Regions from separate parts of the Homo sapiens genome. Here region 2 is linked to region 1. The links are contacts of gene promoters, found by promoter capture Hi-C in blood cells and fetal thymus (Javierre and others, 2016). All regions are on one chromosome and are shown on one strand. Each heading gives the region's core, a stretch centred on a gene start or on the middle of the fragment in contact. The rest is flanking DNA. Distances are from core to core; before and after follow the strand shown. Region 1 holds the start of HIPK1 (homeodomain interacting protein kinase 1). Region 2 overlaps CSDE1 (cold shock domain containing E1).

Evidence for each region. The method cuts DNA at HindIII sites, captures the fragments that hold promoters and counts their contacts. A CHiCAGO score of 5 or more calls a contact.
Region 2: a fragment that was not itself captured here is called in contact with the fragment with the promoter of HIPK1 in region 1 in 1 of 17 cell types (monocytes); the score reaches 5.8 in monocytes.

The regions. Positions count from the first base shown.
Region 1 is chr1:113,926,377-113,932,332 of GRCh38, reverse strand. HIPK1 (homeodomain interacting protein kinase 1) reads right to left here and starts at 3,009. Exons shown (of 16, transcript NM_198268.3): 1 at 2,801-3,009. HIPK1-AS1 (HIPK1 antisense RNA 1) reads left to right here and starts at 2,808. Exons shown (of 3, transcript NR_110726.1): 1 at 2,808-2,971; 2 at 3,945-4,089. RefSeq lists silencers at 2,279-2,588, 2,609-2,658 and an enhancer at 2,779-3,098. The HindIII fragment of the contact is 2,173 bases long and covers 1,924-4,096 here.
Region 2 is chr1:114,746,953-114,752,984 of GRCh38, reverse strand. CSDE1 (cold shock domain containing E1) reads left to right here. Exons shown (of 20, transcript NM_001007553.3): 2 at 2,778-3,164. Among named protein-coding and RNA genes, the nearest start is that of CSDE1, 8.0 kb to the left of the region's middle. The HindIII fragment of the contact is 3,487 bases long and covers 1,298-4,784 here.

The sequences.
Region 1 (5,956 bases), core at 1,760-4,259:
ATGAGTAGCAATGCTGGCAAAGGTCTTCTCATTCTTTTTCCTTAAGCACTCTGGGAAAGCACTGTACCAGGTACCCTTAAAGAATCTAAAAGAAATGTAAGTTTCCTTACCTTCAAAAAACTTAAAATGTTGCTGAAATGATATAACACATGAAAAAGAAAGAAAAATATGAAAACAGGATGTAAATTTTTCAAGTGCCAAATTATGCACTACAGGAATATATTAGGCATTTAGGAGCTGGGTTCCAACAACTAAAGGGAAGATCAGGAACAAAAACAAAAGGAACCAAAAGACAAACCAGTGATTGTTGAAGTGGTACTTAAAGGAAAATAATCTTGATGACTTGTGTTCAGAATGGCACAAAGGGAGAGGAAGGGAAGATAACGGGAGGAATAATAGTAAATTTTTTTTAAAAAGACCTAAAAAATACAGACTGCTGTTATACACTCATGCAGGTGGCAGATCAAGCAGCTCATGTTTGCAAAATTACTTCAAATTACAAGACCAGTTACAATATATAACTAACAAGCTGCACAAGTTCCAAGTGTAAGAACTTTACAAGGCCGGTATGACTCACTGATTTGTACCAACAAATCATTGATGGAGCTGTGCTTATAAAAACAAAAGCACAGAATGAAAGAAGTTTATTTTCCAAAGAATTGTGAACTTTGAGATTATCTCTTCTTTTTTTTTCTTTTAGAAGGAAGTTCTGGTTTGGTTTGAAGTCTCAAGTTACCAACGAACTTGCTCAAAAAACCACAAAACTACAGTGTCGAGAGATAAACTATTCATGAAGGTATCACCAGCAAAAGTTCTACTTGCCAACCAGAGCCAGTATATTTATAAGATCTCATTCACCATTTTATTCTAAGATACTTTACTGGCTTGGCTGCCTCCAGTTCCAACCGCAAGTACTTTACTAAAATATCTTTCAAGCCAGGAACAGTATCTTAAAGTCAATGCCACCCTTCATCATAACAGTATTATAACACAGAACCCTGAGATAATTACATGTAAAGATCCAAAATCACCAGCTGAATAATGAAAATTAGGTCAAATGATTTGTTAGATTTTAAAATGTTTTATAGAAAGCTTTAGGCTTCCATATGAAAAAAGCTAGTAATAGTTTGCATTCTCTATAATCTTACAAAAAAAAAAAAAAAACCCACAGACCAGAGATCAAAAATAGCTTTACACAAACAAAAGGAAAATTGTAGGTTTGCTGAGGGCATCAGCCACTTAATTTAACCCTATTTCATCAAGAGCGGGAAGCCACACTGCTGTTTTCACCAGTTACTAAGAAACAAGATAAAGGACAGATTGGGACAGAGAGTCTATAGCTGAAAGTATTATGTTGATGCAATTACTGAGAATTCCCAAAGTGTCACTAATAGACAAGAAAGAGCATCTAGGACTGCCTCTAAATGAGTCTACCTACAACAGAATCAGTGATTAAGTAAAGAAAAGACTTACTGGAGCTTGGGGGTTTTCCCCCCCTCTTCCCTACCCGCATCCTCCCATCCTGAACCCCCCTCCCCAAGTAGGAAAGAAAGCTCGCCCAGCATAAACACAGGCCATTGCTCACAGCTCGTCACCACAACAAACTGGAGGTTAGACCAACGCTCCTGGAGACGGAACTCCACGTCTTGGTTGCTAAGCACAAAAAGGGGACTCTTCCCCACAGACCTGTGAACAGTGTGGGCCTTACCAGAATTTTGGTTGTTTCTCCACCTTCCCCCTCCCTTTTGTTTTTTTAACGAAAGCTTTGAAAGTGGTGGCAGCAAAAGTTTCCCTTTGGGCCAGACCTCTAGATCTCCCTTGTACAGATATACATTAGGTGGGCTGGTCTCACGTAGTCTCCACCGTCATTACGAATTACAAGCCTAACGACTACAGAACATCAGCGGAGACGACAGAAAAGCTTCCACACCCACCCCACTGTCGTCCTCTCCAGGCACGGCTTCCTGGTCCCAAACAGCACAAATAACCCAAAACCATGGTGATAAGCGGAGCTGTGAAGTACACACGCACAAGCCACACACTGGGAACCTGCCACGACAGCCGGGGAAAAAACCGGCCGAGTGAGGAGACGCAAGGCGGTCCCCTGTCACTTAAGGACAACACGCCCAGGCGAGAAGTGGCAGGAGGCAGGGGGAGTTGCCCCGAAAACCAGCCCGGAGCCTCCCCACCTTCCTGGGAAGGCAATCCCCTCAGCGGCAGTGAGCGGCCGGGCCGCAAGACGCGGCGCCCGGTCCCAGGCAGGGGCCCTTTGAGGAAGGCGCCCCCGGCAGGCTGGGCGCTCCAGGAGAGCCGGCGGCCGGCCCGGCCCCGCCTCAGGGAGCTGAGGGGAAGTCGCTCCCCGCCGAGGACCCCTCCTGCCCGTCCCCACTCACCGCCGGTGTGTCTGGTTCTCAGCCGCGAGCTGGGGCTGCCGTGAGGAGGCGGCGGAGGAGACGAGATCTGGGGCCCCGCAGCCGGGTCATCATACCCCCCGCGCGAGCCGGCCCGGGCCCCGGCCCCCGCCCCCCGGAGCCGTCCCCGCGCCCGTCCCGCAGGGGGAGCCTCCTCAGCCTCCCTCCCGCTCCACCACCCAGCCCCTTCCCGCCGCCGCCGCCGCCGCCTCAGCCCCGCGCGCTCCCGCCTCGGCCTCCTGCTGCCGTCCGGGGCTACCGCCGGGCCCCTTGCTCCGCAGCCGCCGTTGTCGCCAGACCCGACGAACGGAATGCCGAGCGGCCGTCCCTCAACCCGGCCGGCCCCGCCTCGCCGGAACTATTCACCCGCCCCGCGCCATGACACCTACTGAGGCGGAAGTGCAGCTGAATGGACTCTCTAGGACGATCGCATAGTACTGATTGCAGTAGGAGTCGGTGGGCCTCGAGTAGGTGGGCCTCCGTAGGGAGCCAGCGTGGATCGAGTGCGGGGCCTGGACTTCCCGCCCCCTCCGCACTGCAGACTCTGCGGTGATTTAAAGGTGCCTGGCGGTGGTACGGGATCCAACTGTAAAATGTCATCCCAGCTAGTGTGACATCACCACAGTTTAGTGTGACACCCCCAGAGCTTGGGCAGTGTACGGGACGACAGTGCCTAGCAGAGGAGCTTCACTGCCGGTGAGGGATTACCTCAGGTTAGGCTTTAATGTTTCGTTGCCGTCTAGAGACGTTCTAGCAATGTGACATCTGTGTACCATATCTGGAAGTCTCCCTGTACGTCAAGAGCCCCTTAGGGGAGTCTCCCATTGCCGCCGTGGGAACCTGTGTTTACATTACGAGGAGAGAGAATAGCTGTACTCTGAACTCAAACGCTCAAAACATGCAGTGAGCGAATGCTAGCATAATTTTCTTGCCTCTACCAGAAGGAAGGCTGGGTATTTAGGAAACAGAACGCGTTGGGCACAACATTCTGAGAAAATGGACACAGAAAATTAGGTTATCCTAATAGAAAAGCAGTTGCATCTCCCAAAGTCAAGAGATTCTGTAGGACTTCCGATGTATCTCCTGCTGTGTAAAATATTCAGGTTCCTGAAGTGGGGGACATTTTTAGGGCAACTGTAATTTCTTCATTTTTTCCATCCCACAAGTGCTGGAGGCAGCAGTGATCTGAGCTCTAGAAAGTGACTGTCCGTCACCATCGGTATTTGCATATACTCTGTGAGGAGAAGGGCAGTTGTGGCTAAGACAAAATTCTACTATCAAGTTTTGTTTCTCAAATCTCACTCATTAACATCTTTGATTTCCTTGGATCCCCATAACACACACAGAAAACTATGATTTGTGTAAAATGCGCTGAAGTACCTTTTAAGGGAAGTCATTTGGCTTTCTCTCTGGCTTAACAACACGGGGAGCAGTTCCATTTTATCTGGAACAGGGAAGTTTATTTCCCTAGAGAACTAGGGTTACCAAAAATGTTCGATCCCACAAGGCAGTTTTGTTTGCATATTTTCACAGAAACTTCCTTCTACTACTTAAAGTCCTCACATTGGGCTGACCTGGGAAACATGAAGATAAAAAGAGTGGGTAAACATGCCTGCTTGATGAGCCAGAAAAAAAGGCAGAAACCTGTGGTCTGGGTAGAACAGATCCTGCTCAGAATGTAAGCTTCAAACATGTTTATCATGCCTTGGTTCAACCTAACTCTCTGACATGTTCCTAAACTCCTGCTCTCTCAAGTTATGTCCCTTTCCTCTTTTCAAATATCTCTCAGAATTCACCCTTTCGGGAACCTTTGCTGATTGACTCCTATTTTATTTGAATTCTGCATCATCATCTGATTACTTAAATTAACCTGTACCTTCTTTATTTATACTTGTTAACTTCTATTTTCATTGCTCTTAGGTCCTCAGTCTTTCTCACTATACGGAGAGCTTCTTAAAGTCTGTATTTTCTCCTCTTTAGTATCATTCACTCATTCATCCAGCAAACTGCTTGTGTGCCTGCTCTGTGCTATACACTCTTCTAGACACTGGGTCAGGTATGAATGAGACAGGTGAATAAAGCATGGTCTTTTCCCTCAGGGACCTTACAGTCTAATGAGGAAAAAACGTGTGCAGACATATATAAGATAAGTGAGAGAGTCGGAGAAGAACATCAGAAGTGATATTTGAGCATAGTAAGGTCAAAGAAGTTTCAAAGTTTAGTCATTTGTCCATTCAGTAACTATTTATAGAGCATCTTCTGTGTGCTAGGCACTATATAAGAAATTAAGGGGCTGGGTGTGGTGGCTCATGCCTGTAATCCCAGCACTTCGGGAGGCTGAGGCAGGTGAATCACCTGAGGTCAGGAGTTCGAGACCAGCCTGGCCAACATGGTGAAACCCCGTCTCTACTAAAAATACAAACATTAGCCAAGTGTAGTGGCGCATGCCTGTAATCCCAGCTACCCTGGAGGCTTAAGCAGAAGAACCGCTGGAACCCAGGAGAAGAAGGCTACCATGAGCCGAGATTGCACCATTGCACTCCAGCCTGGGCGACAGTGAGACTCTGTCTCAAAAAAAAAAAAAAGAAAGAAAGAAAGAAATAAAAAAAAAAGAAATTAAGGATACACAGAAGAAAAGGCATGGTCTGTGCCCTGAAGGAGCTTACAGTTAAGCAGAGAAGTTGCACGATTTGGAAGTAGTAAGGTAAATTGAGTCAGATTTTGAAAGGCAATGTAGAGCTGTTAGAAGTTTATTCGCACAGGTAGCCAGGCACAGTGGCTCATGCCTGTAATCCCAGCACTTTGGGAAGCCAAGGTGGCAGATCACTGGAGGTCAGGAGTTCAAGACCAGCCTGGCCAACACAGTGAAACCCCATCTCTACTACAAATACAAAAATTAGCCAGATATGGTGGCATATGCTTGTAATCCCAGCTACTCGGGAGGCTGAGGCAGGAGAATCGCTTGAATCCGGGAGGCAGAGGTTGCAGTGAGCCGAGATCGTGCCACTGCAGTCTAGGCTGGGCAAACAGAGCCAGACTCTGTCTCAAAAAAGAAGTTTATTCAGACAGGTAATGTGAGAGAGAACTAGTGATGGTGAAGGAAGAGGGCTAGCTGGAGTGGGTAAAGACTGGAGAAAGGGATCCTAATCAGAAAACTATGATGAGGGTTTGATTACACAGGAAAGAAGGCGAGAAGGGGCAGATATGTGAAATACATCCTCCTAAACCAAGTCAGAGCAACTGGAGAGGGAGGTGGAGCAGTTAGCAATCGGAAGCATTCAAGTTTCATTCAGGGTATGACATCCTTCTAGGGCCTACAGCCTAGATTCAGTGTTGCAGGCAAGAAGTCATTTGCCCAAGAGCGGCAGTGCTTAAGGCCAAATAGGAGAAGCTGATGAGAAGGCTGTGTCTTGAGAGAAGCTGAACCAAAAAGCTAGGCAAACTATTCAAACAAATAGTGAATCCTAGGGGCTAGGAAAAAAAAGAGAATTTAAATAGAAGCCAACAGGTTGTGAAACTGGGAAAACCAGATTAGAGTGAAGGTC
Region 2 (6,032 bases), core at 1,792-4,291, 820 kb before region 1:
TGCTTATTAAGGATTAACTACCTTTTTCCTTTGGTTGTATATGGCAGCACTGGATTAGGTGCGAAAGGAGGCTGTGATAAAGAAATTTGAGTTTACCTCTCAGAAATTTGAAATAGAATTGGAGGAACAAGATACATAAAAACATGAAGTAAACAAAGTACAGAAATTGCTTGGTATCACTTGCTGCAAATTGCTTGGTGCAGGCAGTGGATGTTACTGCCCCATTCATTAGTAGGAATTAATGAATGAGTCTGCTGGAATGGTCAAGAAAGGCTTTTTTGTCACCTTGAAGATCACAACATAGTATTTTTTTGTGGGAAGACCCATATAAGCAAAGGTGGCTAGAATTCAGGAATCTCCCAAGAGTTGTGTTTAAGGATTAGGCGAGGTAATGGACTTCTGGTAGAACTGGAACACAGTAGAGAGTAAGGATGGAAGGTAGAATAGAGACACCTGGAATAGTAGTTCTTAATCCTGGCTGGAAGTCAGAAACACTTGGAGCAGGGGTTGGGGGGAGATAACAAGGCCTGGCACCTAACCTAGTGTAGTTAAATTTAGAATCTTTGTACGGGACTCAGGCTTTGATTTTGTTGGTTTTTGTTTGTTTGTTTGTTTAAGGTTGCTGGGGGTGGGTGGATAGCCAGGATTAAAAACTTCCCATCTAGAATGGTGGAAAAATAACTGAAGATGTTTGACAGGGGAGATGAGAAATGAAATTGGAGAGTTTTTGTTTTGTTTTGTTTTTTGAGACAAGGTTCTGATCTGTCTCCCAGGCTGTAGTGCTGTGTCACTATCTTGTTCTCTGCAGCCTTGACTTCCCAGTCCTAAGTAGCTGAGGCTCCAGGCGTATACCACCATGCCTGGCTAATTTTTTGTATTTTTAGTAGAGATGGGGTTTCTCCACGTTGCCCAGGCTGGTCTGGAGCTCCTGGGCTCAAGCAGACCTCCTGCCAAGGCCTCCCAAAGTGCTGGGATTACAGGCGTGAGCCAACTCACCTGGCCAAAATTCAAGTTTTTGATAGTCTGGTGGTGGTATGTGACAGAAAATGGAAAGTGTGCACACTGGAAGTTGGCGGATATATTAGACACCTGAGCTAAAATATGTCACTTAGTAGGATAAGAGATGAATACAAAAGATATAGCGAGGGAAATACTAACACAACTTGCAACATTGGGTATGGTGATGGAGAGGGGAAGAATCAAGATAGTTAAAGAAGTGGCCCTACCTCAAACCAGTTGTATTACTCTGAGTGGAGGCTGGGCATAGGTTTGTTTTTGTTTTTTTTTTTTTAAAGCTTCCCAAGTATTTGAGCACCATTACCCTGAGACATATATCTAGTCTGGGTAATAGGAGAATGATCTAAATAAAGTTGAAAGATCAGACAAGTGTATGTAACATTTGATATTTGAAGGAACATGGGATGTTAGAGAATAGAAAATGGCCAGATCAGCTGTTATTGAGTTTTTATTTTACATGTGAGGAAAGTGAAACTTAGAGAGATTAAATAACTTGTTCATGGTATTTACTAGTACCAGTGATTGCGATTAGGCTCTTCTGGTCTGAGCTATTTAATCAGCTCTGACCTCTCACCTGATAATCATTCTTCTGATGTTTTCAAATATCCATTTCTCAGCACGTACACCTTTTTCTTATCTCTGTAGAAATAATTTTCGTTAACACCATTTTGTAACTTTGGAGTCAGTGCAAAATTGTTGTTTATTTTATAGCTAATATAAAGCAGAAATGTGATTTTTACTGATAAATAAATTTTATTTCTCTTCTATAGACATTTCTCATCTATTTACTGCAGCAGTGCAAATGAGATTTCTGTTTGCTTACTAAGTCATCTCCTTTAGGATTTCAAGACTTAATACCACTTTCATCAAAAACTAAGGCACTGTTTCCTGTTACATCACGTTGAAATGCTTCATAATCGGGCTCCGCTACACCTGTCACACTACATATCCTATTTCACTTCAGCCCAGCTCTCTGTTCTAGCCAGGCTAGCCTGTTGATTTTCCTCTGAAACAACAAGCCACACATGTTGCCACAGGCATTCATGCAGAAGACTTCACTTGATGCTGGGCTTAGAAAATCATAGAATGCATGGTCGCTGCTCTGAAGAAAGAATTTAGTGGCATATTCTCGCTTGACTTATGTGCTGTTTCATGCCTAGAATACTCAGCTATTTTCTTTCTCCTAGAATTCTGCCTGATTTTCCAGGTTCACTTCAAATTCCACTTATTTAAAAGCCTTGGTTGCTTTGATGGACATGCAGTTGTGGATAAACAATAAATAATATTTCTAGATAGTCTGTGACATAATAGATACCTAGATACTAATTGAGCAAAATAATTTTTGGCATTTTTGTCCTATACTCTGTTTTTTTTTTCCATGTTTACATCTTGTCTTTTCAGCAAGATTGTCTATGCTCTCATGGCAGGGACTTCTTTTATGTTTTCCACAGAGCTAGATCCTTATAAAATACTTGCACTAAATTAAACATTATGCCATGTAACTGAGCTTATTTGGGGGAAGAGGTCAATAAAGACTATGGAATAATTTGAGGTCTTGGGTATGAGATACCAAAGGAGGTAGTTGCTAGTACTTGAGAGATTGCTCCAAATAACATCAGATGAGCATGCTTCCAAGTTTCCTGCATTACTTGCATGACCCATGATTCTAAGTTAATGAAATGAGTTTGTCCCTCTTCTCACCCACTGTCCCTGATTATTTTATGTATGTTATACTTAATGTCTTCATTTTTTACCTTTAGTATGAAGTGTAACAGAACAGACTTTACCACCTGAAACTGCTGCTTCAAGTTCAGATCAGGCAAGGAACAAACCTCGTAACAACTAACAAGACCAAAGAAGAGTACACTTAAGTTGAAGACACAACACTTGATCTGAAACAAGAAGTTTGTGCCTACTCAACAGCTTTGAAAGAGCACTTCCCAACGCTGCTAGTAGTCTTTGTTTTCTTCAGTGCTGTACTGTGAGATTGCCCGGTACAGCAGCAGTTGTATTCTTTATTAGCTTGGTAGATCATTTTCTCTCGCTCTTTTTTTTAATACTAGCAACTTTCATCCTTTGAAACGTGTGCTGAAAAAGAAGAATCAGCAAATACTACTGAAAGTGCAATATTTGAGTATCACTGCGAGGTAGGTTTGTAATTTCCTATTAAGAATCAGTTCCATAATTCTAGATTTCCTGATTATTTGGTCAAATATAAAATCTTTATTTGTTCTTTTCTAAAGGTATTCAGAAGACAGTTTTTCTATTCTCAACTAGTATGAAATATCAACACTATCTCTTGTTAGATAAGGACAGTATTTATGGTCAAACATTTTTCATACCAGATTATATTAATACATGCTGATCTCTCGACTTGCTGGTCTCTTAGAGAAGCTCCGTCTGTACTATTTAGAAGTTAGGATTTCAAATAAGAATGTGCATTGCAGTCTTTCTATGAGGGTCTGTGAAACTTTGGTGATATTTGCTACTGACGTCTGTTTCTTTCTCTCTACTGTCTTCAATGTTAGCTTCTTGAGGAAAGAACCTTACTTTATATCCATGCCTACATTTGCAGTGCATATTTGTGAACGGTATACAGTGCACATTTGTAAATGGTTGACATGCCTACTGTATTGTTAGGCATTGCTAGTGCTGAAATATAACGAATGAATAAGATACTAATGGACTTAATGATTTAGAACAATTTGTTACACAATATCACAATATAGGCTAAAAGATACTAATAAAATATTAAGAATATAACTGAAGCTGTTCCCTTGGAGGTAAGGAGGAGGGTAAAGAAAGCCTACAGAAAAGGGATATTTGAAGGTGAGTAGTACCTTGTTAAGAGGTAGAAGAGACATTGGTAGAGGTATAGAGGTAACAGAATTAGCAGATTCAGGGCTACGTGAAAGCACATGGTATATATTAAGTTGTTCATTATGAACAGAGTAGAGAATATAATTTTGCGGGAGAGTTATGAAAGGGAAGTTTGCTGGAGGCTTGGCCCAATGCATTTGTCTTTATTCCGTAGGAGAGCCATCAGATGTCTATAAGCAAGGGCTTAAGGGTTTTTCCCCCAAAAGTAAGATAGCTTTATTGCTTCACATTTTAAAGTAATATTCAGAAGTGTACCTTTAAAAGACAAATGGTGACACTTTTGAGGGAAAGGCTGAGGATGGGAAGACCTGTCAAAAGCAGTGGATCAAGTATAAGGAAGATAAAAGCTAAGGTGTAGGTAGAGAAAAAGGTAGGTGCTAGGTGTTCTGATGATTTAGAAGTGAGGACTTGGGGACCAATTGAATCTGAAGATAAATGTGGAGAGAATGGCTTTATCAAATCCAGTTGTGCAAACTAGAAACCTTCATTGTTCATAGGAATAGGGAAGTTAGAGTAGTAACTTACTGATATTAAAATATGTTATGGAAATCTATTGTGTTCATTAGATAGCAATCTGAAGTTGAAGGAAATACACTAGTATGGAATATTGAACAGTGGTTAACTTTGAGGGTAGGCTTATGAAGAGCAATTTTCCTTTTTAATCTTTAGTTTCCAGATTTTCTAAAGTTAGACATAAAGGAATTCAGAAAGGAGTCATCAGTGTATAGGTAATAAAAGGAAGAAGCACCAATGAAGAGAGCAAAGACATAGAAGTCAGGAAAAAGCACCAACGATAATTTCAGGAAGTCAATGGTAAACATTTTTTTAGATGCTACAGAGGTCAAATAAAATGAAGAATGAAAATAAGTCATTCAGTTACAAAAGCTTCACTGCTATTTCAAGAAGCGCTTAGGACTTTATTTCCAATTTATTGAAGGATTATGTAATAGTGTCAGTGACCTTGCTGTGCACTAGAATTATTCCTTAACAACTAAAAACTATAGTAAAATTATCTATGTCTCATAAACAGACACTGTTATTTAATTTTAAGGTAATTGTAGCATTTAGTTTTTCTATTTGTTTCTTCTTACCTTAGCTGATTTTTAAAAAATAATTTTAGACTAATTGTTGTGGATTCTGTTGGATTAGATAGGGAAGATTAACACAAATTGAAACCACAATTTTATGTTCTGAAGCATAAAAGATTAGATTTTTTTTTTTTTCCTCTCTGAGACAGAGTCTTGCTCTGTCGCCAAGGCTGGAGTGCAGTGGGGTGATCTTGGCTCACTGCAGCCTCTGCCTCCCAGGTTCAGGTGATTCTTCTGCCTCAGTCTCCTGAGTAGCTGAAATTACAGGCGCGCATCACCATGCCTGGCTTATTTTTGTATTTTTAGTAGAGACGGGGTTTCACCGTGTTGGCCAGTCTGGTTTTGAATTCCTGACCTTGTGATCCACCCGCCTCGGCCTCCCAAAGTGCTGGGATTACAGGCATGAGCCACCGTGCCTGGCAAGATTAGATATTAAGGCTTTCATTTCATTGACATGATTTATAGAAATAGATTTAACGAAGTCCTTTTTGTTTAGTGTAATCTTTGTATTCTGAATATTAGTTTACTACATGAACATTTTAATATATAAATGCATCCATAGCTGTCTAAAAATTACATGTTTACATATGTACAAAGAAACCACAATTGGGATGAAGATTATTGGCAGTAAAACATGGCTGTGGTTGTACAGTTGTGAAATAGTTCAGTTAAAGGGGGCACACAGCTAAGAAAACAGATTTGGTAATGCAATGGAACCCCCAGATTTTAAAGGGGGGTTTTGTAAAATCAGTAAAAATAGTACGTAATTAGGAACAAATATATATAGAAGGGTAGAATTAGCCATAAAATGGCAAGAAAGAATAAGGCTTATAAAGCATTTGTTTGAGATGTGAAAATAGACCTGAATTGTTTGGTGAATGATTTGATCCAGGTTAGTCTAAAGGTGACAGACAAGAGAAAAGCAAAACTAGAAAATTCCTGTCGCGCTCCTAGTTTTTTCTGCTGAATGCAATAATTTTCATACTTGAAACATAGCAAAGCAAGAGAAAACTGAGGCCCCAGATGAGTGAGAAAATAACAGGATTA